Regions from separate parts of the Homo sapiens genome. Here regions 1, 2 and 3 are each linked to region 4. Evidence: promoter capture Hi-C in human tissues and cell types (Jung and others, 2019). All regions are on one chromosome and are shown on one strand. Each heading gives the region's core, a stretch centred on a gene start or on the middle of the fragment in contact. The rest is flanking DNA. Distances are from core to core; before and after follow the strand shown. Region 1 overlaps LINC01727 (long intergenic non-protein coding RNA 1727). Region 2 overlaps LOC105372558 (a long non-coding RNA gene). Region 3 overlaps LINC01727 (long intergenic non-protein coding RNA 1727). Region 4 holds the start of NKX2-2 (NK2 homeobox 2).

Region 1 (2,700 bases), core at 73-2,572, 100 kb after region 4:
TACTTTTTCAGTAGAAAATGAAGCAGTTTATTTAATATTATTTGGATAACAAGCCTCCACATGAACAGGATTCGAATGTCAGTTGTCTTAGGGGAAAAAAGATTTATTGGTTGGTAAATATTGAGAAAGAAAAGCTGATAAAGAACAGTTTCAGCTGCGGCTTCTGCCCGGAGCAGGAGAACAGGCCTGTGTTGTATTTTGGGGCCCTGGGAAGGCAAAAAATTGTGAATGTCTTTCTTTGTTGGTGGGTGTAAAAGTGGAGCCCGCTACAAATAATTTCTTATTTCTTGTCGCATAGATTTTAAATTATGTAGCTTCCCTACCTTGTTAAGTATTAAAGCGGTCTTGTTTAAGGAAGAGACACTTAAATAATGAAGCTTATGTATCTTGTTTTCAGACATCAATATCTGGCTTTGAGTGGCACAAAGAAATAAAGGAATGTGGATTCAGACCTCACTGGGATGCTTGGCAATTCTAATTCTACCCCAGACTGCAAATGGACACACAACTGTTGTGACTTTTGTTGAAGAGGAGAAGGATGGGTGAGCATGTGACGTTGGGAAATTGTATTTTCTTCTTCGAGTTCTTCTGTTTCCGAATATTTAATCCTACTGTTTTCTTCTTTAGTGAAGGTCTCTTTAGTCAATAATCTCTTTGCTGAAATTGCTTCGGGCAGCACAGAAGCTGGATTCAGAAGCACACAGGTCTGGGGATGCAGGCTTCGGCCAGCCTGATGCAAGGAAAGACTGCCATCTCGTGGTCAGCTCAATCCTGGCACCTTGGTGAGGGACCAGGCTGCAGAAAACCAGGCTTGGGGAGGAAACGGTGCTGCAAACTGGATTTCTGCCGGACAGTGTGGATGCCCTTAGAAAACACCCAGAAAAGAGCTGAGTGCCCCCCAAGGTAGGCTTCAGTGAATCCTCTGCAGGTGTGTTGTCATCCCTTGAGCCAAACACATGCTTCACACACACGCTGCAGGCTGCGTGAAAATGAGGTAGAAATGTGGGGAAAACATAATCCCATGGAGAGAACAAAGAGCTGAACACGTAAATGCCTCCGGCGTGCCTGGCAGAGAGAACACTCAGGCTGAGAGAAGGGACAGTGACTTGTACCAAAGGTAGGCAAGTAGCCTCTGGGGTCTCAATCAGCAGGGCATCTGGTCAACCCTTCAGACAAAGTCAGGTCTGAGCAGGCAAGATCCATGGATCTGATTTATTAATATTTTTACAATTAAATAGAATCTGATTGTAAAACTGTTACATGTGTTGTAAGAAAAAAAGAAAAAAAGGAAGGATATAGAAATGTACAAAGAAGGAAATAAAAGACTGGAAGCGTCCTCACCTTAGGGACCCATTATTAACGCTTAGGTGGCCAATCTTCCAGACATCTTGCTACGAATATATTCAAACGGGAATTAAAAATGTACTTTTACACAAGTGCAATCAGACCTTGTACTCCTCTATCCCATAACCTACTTTTTCATTCAACACTATGACAGAAGCGTCTTTCCAGGTCCATAAATAAAGGTAGGCCTCATCGTTTTTTATCAATTACATAAAGCTAATGGTATATAATACTGATTTCATACCTGCTATATGCCAGGCACATACATGGTCTTGCATAATCTCATAATGACTCTACAGAACGGGAGTTTGTATTATGCCCATTAAGCAGATGAACAGGCTGTGGCACAAGAAAATTGATCAGCACTGCCAGGGTATCTGACCTCAGAGCCCAGGATCTTGACTAGTAGGCTAGAAATGAACATAATTTACTTACCAGTTTTCCAGTGATGGACATTAAGCCATTTCCTACTTTTCTGGTATAAAAAATAAGATTGCAGTGAAACTTTAGGGCATATACATCTTTGCACGTTAGTGAGTTCTCTCTAAGTTAACCTGAAAGCGGTGGGCTGTGGAGTTTGTGGGTCAAAGTGTATGCTCGATTTATGCTTTACTATGTGCCCGACTTCCCTCCAGGCAGCATGTGCCAGCTCACACTCCCAACAGCTGCGCAGGAGAATTTCCAGTGCCCCACGACCTTGTCAATACTAGGCTTCCTCATCAGTTTTTTCTCTCCTTTATTTTTCTTTAGGAAAAAAAAAACAGCCTTTGAAAAAAATTGTACGAACAAGTGCAATGTGTGCTTGTAAGTGCTTCACCAAATGTAGATCCACCCGGTGTTAACCTTTTGCCACATCTGCTCTCTATTAGTTTTTATCACACTTTGGAATTATCTATAGACATCATAACACTTGATGCCTAAATGCTTTGGTGTGTGTCTCTTAAGAACAAAGACACACCCTTACCTAAGCATAATATAATTGGTACACTTGGGAATTGCTAAAATACATTGCTAAAATACAGTTTTCTAATACAGAATCTATATCAAGTCATTGAATAAACACACTTCTTGACTTAAAATGAGATTACATCCCATAAACCCATAATAAGTTGAAAAAATGTAAGTAAAAATGCATTTAATACACTAAATCTGCTGAATATTATAACAATTTTGCCTACATTAAATGTGCTCAGAACACTTACATTAGCCTACGGTTGGAAAAAATTATCCAACACAAAGCCTATTTTATAATAAAGTGTTAGATATCACATGTAATGTATGGAATACTGTACTGAAAGTGAAAAACAGAATGGTTTTATGGGTTCTCACAATACGGTTTCCACTGAATGCCTATCA
Region 2 (2,700 bases), core at 13-2,512, 76 kb before region 4:
GCCATTTCAGTTTAGTGGGTTCTTTGACTTAGATTAACTACATATATCTTTGTGACCATTTTTAGTTTGAGATAAGTTGGACTCCATGTTCAATACTAATTTTCAAGGCCTGAATGATTGGGTTGGCAAAACTGAAGAATCAAATATTACTCATTTTTCACCACTTAATGCTATGCTATGTGATTAATTTTTGCATTCTGTAAAGCTTGTCCTATACCAGGCTCTTGTGTCATAAATTCCATTTGTAGTTATTTGTTTTTAAAAGATTAGTATTCTATTCTTTTGTTTCTATACTACTGTGCCTTTTTAAATCCTTTGATACATGTTTCCTACATAGGTTTTTGTTATGTGTTAGATAGTTTGCTTTCATTTTCAAGGCATTATTCAAGTGTCTTTCACTGCAGAAATCCTTTTTATTCCATTTCTCTGCTTGTCAGAATTCCAAACCAGAAATTTCTGAGAGAGCAACAGGAATTTCACACTTAGTTCAAGTTCATGAGGTTGAGAGATTTCTTTGCTAGACATATTTGGCAGAAATAAAAATTGTTAATATAGAAACCTCTCAAAAATTAAAAATGGGAAAGTAACAATCATTGATCCCGCTTTTCTGGAAAATGTTGGACAAAATTTTACTTAAAACAGGGGCAATAATTTTCAAGTCATGAGTGATATTGGCTTCTTGTAATTAAAACTAAAAATTCAGTAGTAAAATGCAAATAAATCATAATGTCAGCATTTACATGGATTAGATTTGTTTATTAAGTCAAATGGAATTATATCAGTAAGCTCTGAACTCAGAAAAATTTAAGCAATTACTGTACAATCCTGACAGAACCTATACTATAACATGACCAATGTAATCATTATAATCTGTCAAAATCACATTTAGTGTACCTACATGTTGATTATTGAAAGAGAACTATATCTTGTTCCTTATGAAAATAAACACAATACTAATATGATGATGAAATAATGCTATAAAAGTAAAATCATGATGTTCAGACATAATTTCCCCAAAACAGGTATCTAAAATGTTAAACTTTAATCATCCTGTTGGCACAGTTGGCAGCATGTCAGTCTTATAAAATGTTAAACTTTAATACAATCTGATGATCCTCCGATGTTACTATTTAATGTTGTAGTTTATGCTTATGTTCATAAGAAAATATGGCAATGTCAAATATTGTTCTCATTTACCATTAGAATGTTTCTGTCATCCTTCAAGAGGTCTGAATAGATCATGGAACCATGTTCAAGGGCTGCTGTATTAGTAAGTAGTTACTTATTTCTCTGGGTCAGTGAATCAGATTTTAGCATGTGATTGCATGGCATCTTAAAGCATTTGGAAAGGCTGGAATTAGGAGTGGCATGATGTTTTCATCTTTCTAATACGTAGAATCTGTACTAAAGATATAAAGATATAATAGCTAATTTTGTGTATCAACTTGACCAAGCCATGGTGCCCAGTTGTTTAGTCTAATACCAGTCTAGGTGTTGCTGTGAAGGTACTGTTTAAACTGATTAACACTTAAATCAGTAGGCTTTGAGCTAGCATATTACTCTCCATAATGTACGTGGGCCTTGTCCAATCAGTTACAGACATTATGAGAAAAGAGCGAGGTCCCCAGAGGAAGGAGTTCTGTCTCCAGCCTGGTCTGCAGATTTGAGACTTTCCAGCTCCACAATCACATGAGTCAATTCATATATATATATATATCCTTTTGGTTCTGTTTCTCTGGAGAACCCTGACTAACTGGTAATTAAAAAATTAATACAAATGCTCCTTGACTTATGATGGGGTTATGTCCCAATAAACTCACCATTAGTTGAAAATATCATAAGTGTAAAATGCATTTAATACCCTGATAAACCCATCAGAATAGTTTTGAAAAATGTAAGTTGGCCAGGTGAGGTGGCTCACACCTGTAATCCCAGCACTTTGGGTGGCTGAGGCGGGTGGATCACCTGAGGTCAGGAGTTCCAAACCAGTCTGGGCAACATGGCAAAACCCTTTCTCTACTAAAAATACAAAAATTAGCCAGGTGTGGTGGCACACATGTGTAATCCCAGCTACTTGGGAGGCTGAGACAGGAGAGGATCGCTTGAACCTGGGAGGCCGAGGCTGCAGTGAGCTGAGATTGTGCCACTGCACTCCAGTCTGGGCAACAGAGCAAGACTCCATCTCAAAAAAAAAAAAAAAAGAAAAAAAGAAAAAAGTAAATCAAACCATCACAAGCCAAGATGCTATATTCTAAAATATAAAACACCCCAACCTCATTATGTGACATTATCTTCTCAATAGTTTTCCTCTAAACTCTGCTCAGCCTGCCTGCCTTTCTTTTCTTTTCTTTTTCTTTCTTTCTTTCTTTCTTTTTCTTTTTTTTTGTGAGACAGGTTCTCACTTTATTGCCCTTTATTGGAGTGAAGTGGTGCAGTCATAGCTCCCTACAGTCTCAGACTCCTGGGTTCAAGCACTCCTCCTGTCTCAGCCTCCTGAATAGCTGGGAATACAGGTGCATGCCACTACACCTGGCTCATTAAAACAAAATTATTTTTGTAGAGATGAGAGCTAACTATGTTGCCCAGGTTAGTCTTGAGCTCCTGGCCTCCAGTGATCCTCCTGCCTTGGCCTCCAAAGTGTTGGGATTATAGATGTGAGCTACTGTACCAAGTCTTATTTTTTATATAAAGGATATCTGA
Region 3 (2,700 bases), core at 60-2,559, 83 kb after region 4:
TTTTCAAGCTTTCTGCTGGGATCCTGTTTCTTCTCAAGATGATGCAGGGCAGGGAAGGTCCAAAATTGAGACTTAGCATGAGAGGGTTCTTTGCTTCACCCAGGGAAGAATTCAAGGTCAGTGGTGAGAGAAAGCAACTTTTAACAAGCAGTGCCTGGCTCATAGGCAGTGTGCCCAGCATCAGCAGTGTACGCTGGCAACTGTATTTATACCACTTTGAATCACATGCTAATTAAGAGGTGGGTTATTGAGAAGTTTCTGGAAAAGAGGCGGGAAGTTTCAGGAACCATTTAAGTTAACTTCCAGGCTGTTGCCATGGCTTGTTGCCATGGCGTTTACAAGCTGCCATGGCACTAGTGGAAGTGTCTTCATGGTAATGAGCAGTTAGGCCAACTGGAGGTTGCTTTCATTGCTGTCTGCTGGTTTTGGGTGGCTTCTTCCCTGCATCCTGTTCTGACTAGATCCTGCTTCCATCAGCGGGGTTGTGACTCAAAAATAAGTCCTGCCAGTCTCCTGCCTCAAGGACATTCAAGTATTTTGGGAGCAGTTTCATCATCTTGATGACACCCCTCCTAGATGTCCCCGTCCTCTTGTCCCAAGATTGCAGGCCTCTCTCCTGACCTGCTCGGCCACCCTAGAAGCTCCCTGAACTGCCATCTGGTTCTTTCTGCTTTTCTTTTGGGATGGATCTCACCTCAAAAGAATGTGCTCTGGATCTCACATCTTTCTTTCTTGATTTACTGCCTCCACCCCTGCAATTTCCTTGCCTCTTTTCAATTTCCGCTCCTTTAAATCATTTTAGAAGGGTTTGAGGAAGAAATAGTGATCAATACTTGCATTCGGTCTCCAGGTTTAACCTGAAGTTCCCCATATTTTAAGACCAGAAAAAAAAATAAAGATTTTTTTCCATTTGGGTAGAAAAACCTATATTTTCAAATTCCACTACTTGAATTATTCTGTGCCTTTTCTTCATTGTGTGGGTGTACCATTCACCAGCAACTTGTAAAATCCATGTAGGGAAGCACCTCTCAAGTTGCTTTCTGCAAAAGTGTACCCAAAAGAGACACAAAAGTTTGGCCTCAAAAGTTTGAAAATGTCTTTATTTTATCCTTGTGCTTGTCGACATCTTGCTGAATACAGAATTTCAGGTTGGAAACACTTTTTTCTAGCTTTGGTGGTGTTGTTGAGAAGTCCAACAACAAAGGATTCTTAATCCTTTGTATACACAATTTTATTTTCTTTATGGAAATGTTTAGAGCCTTCTCTTTGTTTCCAATACTCTAAAATTCCCAAATAATAAGCCTTGGTATAAATCTATTTTCACCTATTTTGAAGAATATTTGATATGGGATTGCAACCTGGAGACTCATGTCTTTCAGTTCTGGTAAACCTTATTGAGTTAATTTATTTACTTTAAAAAAGAATATTCTCCTCTCTGTGTTTACATTCTTGAACTTTCATTGCTGGTTATGGACCCTCCTGGACTGATCTTCTAATTTTAAAGGTATTTTAAAATTTAAATTCTAACTCTTTTATTTTTTTTTAGAAGAGCTATACTTCCCAAACTTCTTCTGAGTTTTTTTCTACTATCATATTTTTAATTATTTTTTTTAAGAGACAGAGGCTTGCTATGCTACCCAGGCTGGAGTGCAGTGGCTATTCACAGGTGGGATCACATAGGGCACTGCAGCCTTGAAATCCTGGACTCAAGTGGTCCTCCTGGCTCAGTCTCCTCAGTAGCTGGGACTACAGGCAAGTACCACCATGCCCAGCATATTTTTAAATTCTTAAGAGCTCATTTTTTGTTCTCTGATCGTTCCCTTTCTACATAATGTTGTTTTAGATTCATTGATATAATAGCTTCATTTGATTTCTCTGAAAATATTAAAGATACTTTTTTGGTATAATTTTTGTCTTTCTACATGGGCTCTGTTTCCTCTAATTTACTTTGATCTGTTTTTTTCTTAGGGGGGATCTACTTCATGCTAGAGCTTTTCTTACATGTCTGGGGATCCTTAGCTGTCTGCTGAAATTTAAAAGTGGAGCATTGAAAAGTAGATTGGAAATGTTGAGCATATAGTTAAGGCTTATCACTTATGGGTTCCACTGTGTGGTAATCTTTTCGGGTCATCATAGGAGAACTCTTGATGTCAGGATCTAGGTCCTTTCTCTTGTGTTGGTCAAATTTCCCAGAGAATAAGCTTCTCATTTCCTTTTGGGCAGTATATTTATTGGCCAGTGAGTCTGGGGGTAAATAGGTTTGAGGGTTCCAATATTCAGTATGGAAATTCCATAAAATGAACTATTTGTAGTATGGACACCTGTCCTCCCATGTGCCTGGTATCCCCCAGGCCAGAAACGTTCTACTTTATTTCCAAGAGAGTCAAGCTCAGTCTTCTAACACAGTGAGGGACATGCAGCTCTCTGGAAGTGTATCTTCCTCCATAGGTTTGCATCCAATTCCCCTATGTTCAATTCAGGCCCAGCTGGGCTCCCATTCTGTAGAGTAGGTACCTCCAGAATTGTAGACTTCATGGGTTCTGAGGTTTTGCTTCTGGGCACTCCCATGACCAGGTTAGAATTATCTTTCTCAGGTGTGCATAAGTCAGGAAGTCTATTATTTGTTGCAACTCCTTCATCAGCTCTCTACCACCTCCCCAAATTTTGTTGCTGCAATCGACTTTCCCATTCTCCTTGTCT
Region 4 (2,700 bases), core at 108-2,607:
CTCGCCTTTCAAGGGGCTCACATAGTGTGGGTGAGAATTTGGGGGGGGAAGTGGCACTGAAGATCATCGCGGGTTAAGGGCTCCGGCGCCCTTAAGCGGTTTCCTCTCCGGCGAGACGTGGGCAGATTTTTAAAAGAAATACCCCACAATCCCAGCATTGATCGGCTCGGCCATTTAAGGCAGGTTTTTGGGGGCTTTCGTTTCTGCTTTCGGGCCTTCTAGACACCCCCTGCACTGCACAAAGCGTCCTCTATGATCGCGCAGGGGGCAGGGTGAGCTATTTATACCCGGGCCACCCGAAGCCTCCCCACCCTCCACCCGTACCCGGACGAGGCTCGCTGGCTACCTCCAGGGCGCCAGGCCAGTCCCTCCCAGCGGCCGGAGTCCGGGGGCTGCGGCTGGAGCCATCGGTCCGGGTTGACATCATATACCAGCCCCTGGGAGGTATAGCCCTTCTCCCTCTTTCTCCTTAACTTCTCGCATTGAAAAAAATTTTGGAGACCAAGTTCTTTCCCGGAACTAAGGAGGCTTGAAGAGGAGGGCAGAGGACATCCTATACAGGTGTTAAAAATCTTTCTACGGATCCGAGTGAGGGGGTCCGGGCTTACATGGCCCCTTCCCCTTTCACTCCCAGCGTCCAACCCGGGCTGCGGCTGCAGGAATGGAGGGGACCACGGCCTCGGCAGCCAAGTTTTGCTACTTACGGGAGTACTGAAGGCCCTCGGTGCTGGCCAGCCAGCGCGTGTACGGGTTGTCGCTGCTGTCGTAGAAGGGGTTCTTCAGGGGCAGGCTCTGCACCGCGTCCAGGGCGCCCTGCCCCAGCGGCCCGGCCCTCTTGGCTGGCTCGGGCCCCTCGTTCTCTTCCTCCGGACCTTCGGCCACAGAGCCCTCCTCATCGTTGGTGTCCGGCAGGTCTAAGATGTCCTTGACCGAAAACCCCGTCTTTGTGTTGGTCAGCGACATGGTTCGAGACCCCAAAATTTATGTCGCAAAGTTGTAGCTTCACTTGGTCAATTCGTGGCGCTCCCCTGCCCCGGCGGGCGGGGGAGGGGGGAGTTGGGGGGAGGGACTGGGGGAGGGGAGGGGGGAATTGGCTTTAATTATTGGGATAATTATTATTTTTAAAAAGAGAAAGAAACTGGGGATGGGGAGGAAAAAAATGAAGCCCAACCCAGTGCCTCTCTCTGTCTTCTTTGAAAGCACGCGGAAATGGACGCAGGAAGCCGGGCGGCCTGCGCGCCGAGCGCCGCGGGCCCCGGCCTTAGTTTCTAACTCCAGGAGGGGTGCCAAGGCGGCGTCAGCTCGGGCTCCGGCGGCCGCTCGGCGCGCGGTGGCGGCTGGTGGCGAGGAAAAAATGGGCCATTGCCCGAGCGATCAGTCCATATAAGGCTGGGCTCCACTCACGAACCTGGGGAGGCGGGGAGAGGGGGAGAAAGAGAGGGAGGGAGGGAAAGAAAGAGGGAGGGAGGGGGAGCGAGAGAGGGAGCGGGAGAAGGGTGGAAAAAAGGGGGAAGAGACATTAAAAACGCAAAGGTTGGCCACGTGTGGGCGGGTCTTGGGAGTCAAGTGGATGAAGACAGTATTTGCAGATGTGAAATTGTGGGTTTTGGGGAGCTCCGCGCTCCCAGCCAACGGCCCTCTAGAGCAAGATGAGAGGTGTAACGTGTCAATTAATTGCAAAGACGGGGCGAGCCTTTTTTTTTTTAAACCCAGTATTTACATACAAAGGGCCACCGCGTCGCTCGCGAGTCCACACACTTGAAAGGGCCGTTTTAACAAATTGCATCTTAAAAAAGGTGGGGGTGGGGAGGAGGAGGGGAGAAAACAAAACAGAAACCAGGAGGAGGGAAAAAATCCTCTTTAACATTCACCGGTTCCTACCTCCCCGCCCCCGCGCGCCCACCCCCGGCAAGCCGGAAAATTGGCGATTTGTGGCGCCTTTGGAAAAGGGGGAGGGGGCGAAGGCCGAGCTGCGGAAATCTCTCCTTTCCATCGTTGGTGGTTGCCTAAACAAGATCCGGTTCAAATGGCAAGAGCCCAACTTCTGTAAGCCTCCTAGGTCAATATTTTGGTTGAGGCTTAAGGATGAGTGCTAGAAATGACAAGGCAAGTAATTGATTCCAGTTAACCGCGAGAGAGCCCAAAACCCAGGAGAGAGCTCCGCTCCGGGCCGGCCAGAGCCACCACCAAGCGACCCGCCCCCTTCCAGCCGCCCTTTATTTGCTAAAGACTCATTTATTTCCTTCACTCCGCCTCCCCCCACCTCCCACCCCCAACCCCCCGCCTCCACCTCTCTGCGGCCAAGGAGGACGCGCAGTTCACTTTCTGCTTTGCGGGCGGTCCCGGGGAGGGCGGGGTAAGAGTGAGGAGCTCCAACTTCGTCTGGGGTCGGACCCTGGCCCTGCTGCCTCTGGGCTCTGCGGGCCTCTTTCCCCGGGTGGAGGAAAGGGCAGACGGCCCTGCTCTTTCCTGCCCTCTATTATCCCTCCCTCTCCGGCCCCCTCCCTCTCCAGCCTCTGGCTAGAGGTGGAGCAGCGGGAAGGCGGCGGGGCGGGATTGCGGGGGTGGGGGTGGGGGTTGTGTCTCCAGCCTGGGTGAAGACCCAGAAAGCTGCGGGGGAGGGGGGTCGCTGGGTGGCCCGACGATGCCTCGTTTTCTCCCCAGTTTTCTTCTCCCACGCGAGTTCTTTAGTGTGGTCTC

What was found. Contacts are between HindIII fragments. The study calls those that stand out against the background at their distance.
Region 1: a contact is called between a fragment that was not itself captured here and the fragment with the promoter of NKX2-2 in region 4, in 4 of the 25 tissues and cell types used here (dorsolateral prefrontal cortex, hippocampus, lymphoblastoid cells and 1 more).
Region 2: a contact is called between a fragment that was not itself captured here and the fragment with the promoter of NKX2-2 in region 4, in 2 of the 25 tissues and cell types used here (dorsolateral prefrontal cortex and thymus).
Region 3: a fragment that was not itself captured here is called in contact with the fragment with the promoter of NKX2-2 in region 4 in 2 of the 25 tissues and cell types used here (bladder and dorsolateral prefrontal cortex).

What each region holds. Positions count from the first base shown.
Region 1 is chr20:21,614,986-21,617,685 of GRCh38, forward strand. It overlaps LINC01727 (long intergenic non-protein coding RNA 1727), which reads left to right. Exons shown (of 4, transcript NR_109880.1): 3 at 398-542; 4 at 677-737. All of the region lies in intron 3 of LINC01726 (long intergenic non-protein coding RNA 1726), which reads right to left. Among named protein-coding and RNA genes, the nearest start is that of LINC01727, 46 kb to the left of the region's middle. The HindIII fragment of the contact is 3,224 bases long and covers 1-2,700 here.
Region 2 is chr20:21,436,713-21,439,412 of GRCh38, forward strand. It overlaps LOC105372558 (a long non-coding RNA gene), which reads left to right. Exons shown (of 4, transcript XR_001754528.1): 3 at 1,204-1,270. Among named protein-coding and RNA genes, the nearest start is that of NKX2-4, 41 kb to the left of the region's middle. The HindIII fragment of the contact is 8,149 bases long and covers 1-2,700 here.
Region 3 is chr20:21,595,620-21,598,319 of GRCh38, forward strand. All of the region lies in intron 1 of LINC01727 (long intergenic non-protein coding RNA 1727), which reads left to right. Among named protein-coding and RNA genes, the nearest start is that of LINC01727, 27 kb to the left of the region's middle. The HindIII fragment of the contact is 3,254 bases long and covers 1-2,700 here.
Region 4 is chr20:21,512,707-21,515,406 of GRCh38, forward strand. NKX2-2 (NK2 homeobox 2) reads right to left here and starts at 1,358. Exons shown (of 2, transcript NM_002509.4): 1 at 705-1,358. The coding sequence starts at 963. The HindIII fragment of the contact is 15,862 bases long and covers 1-2,700 here.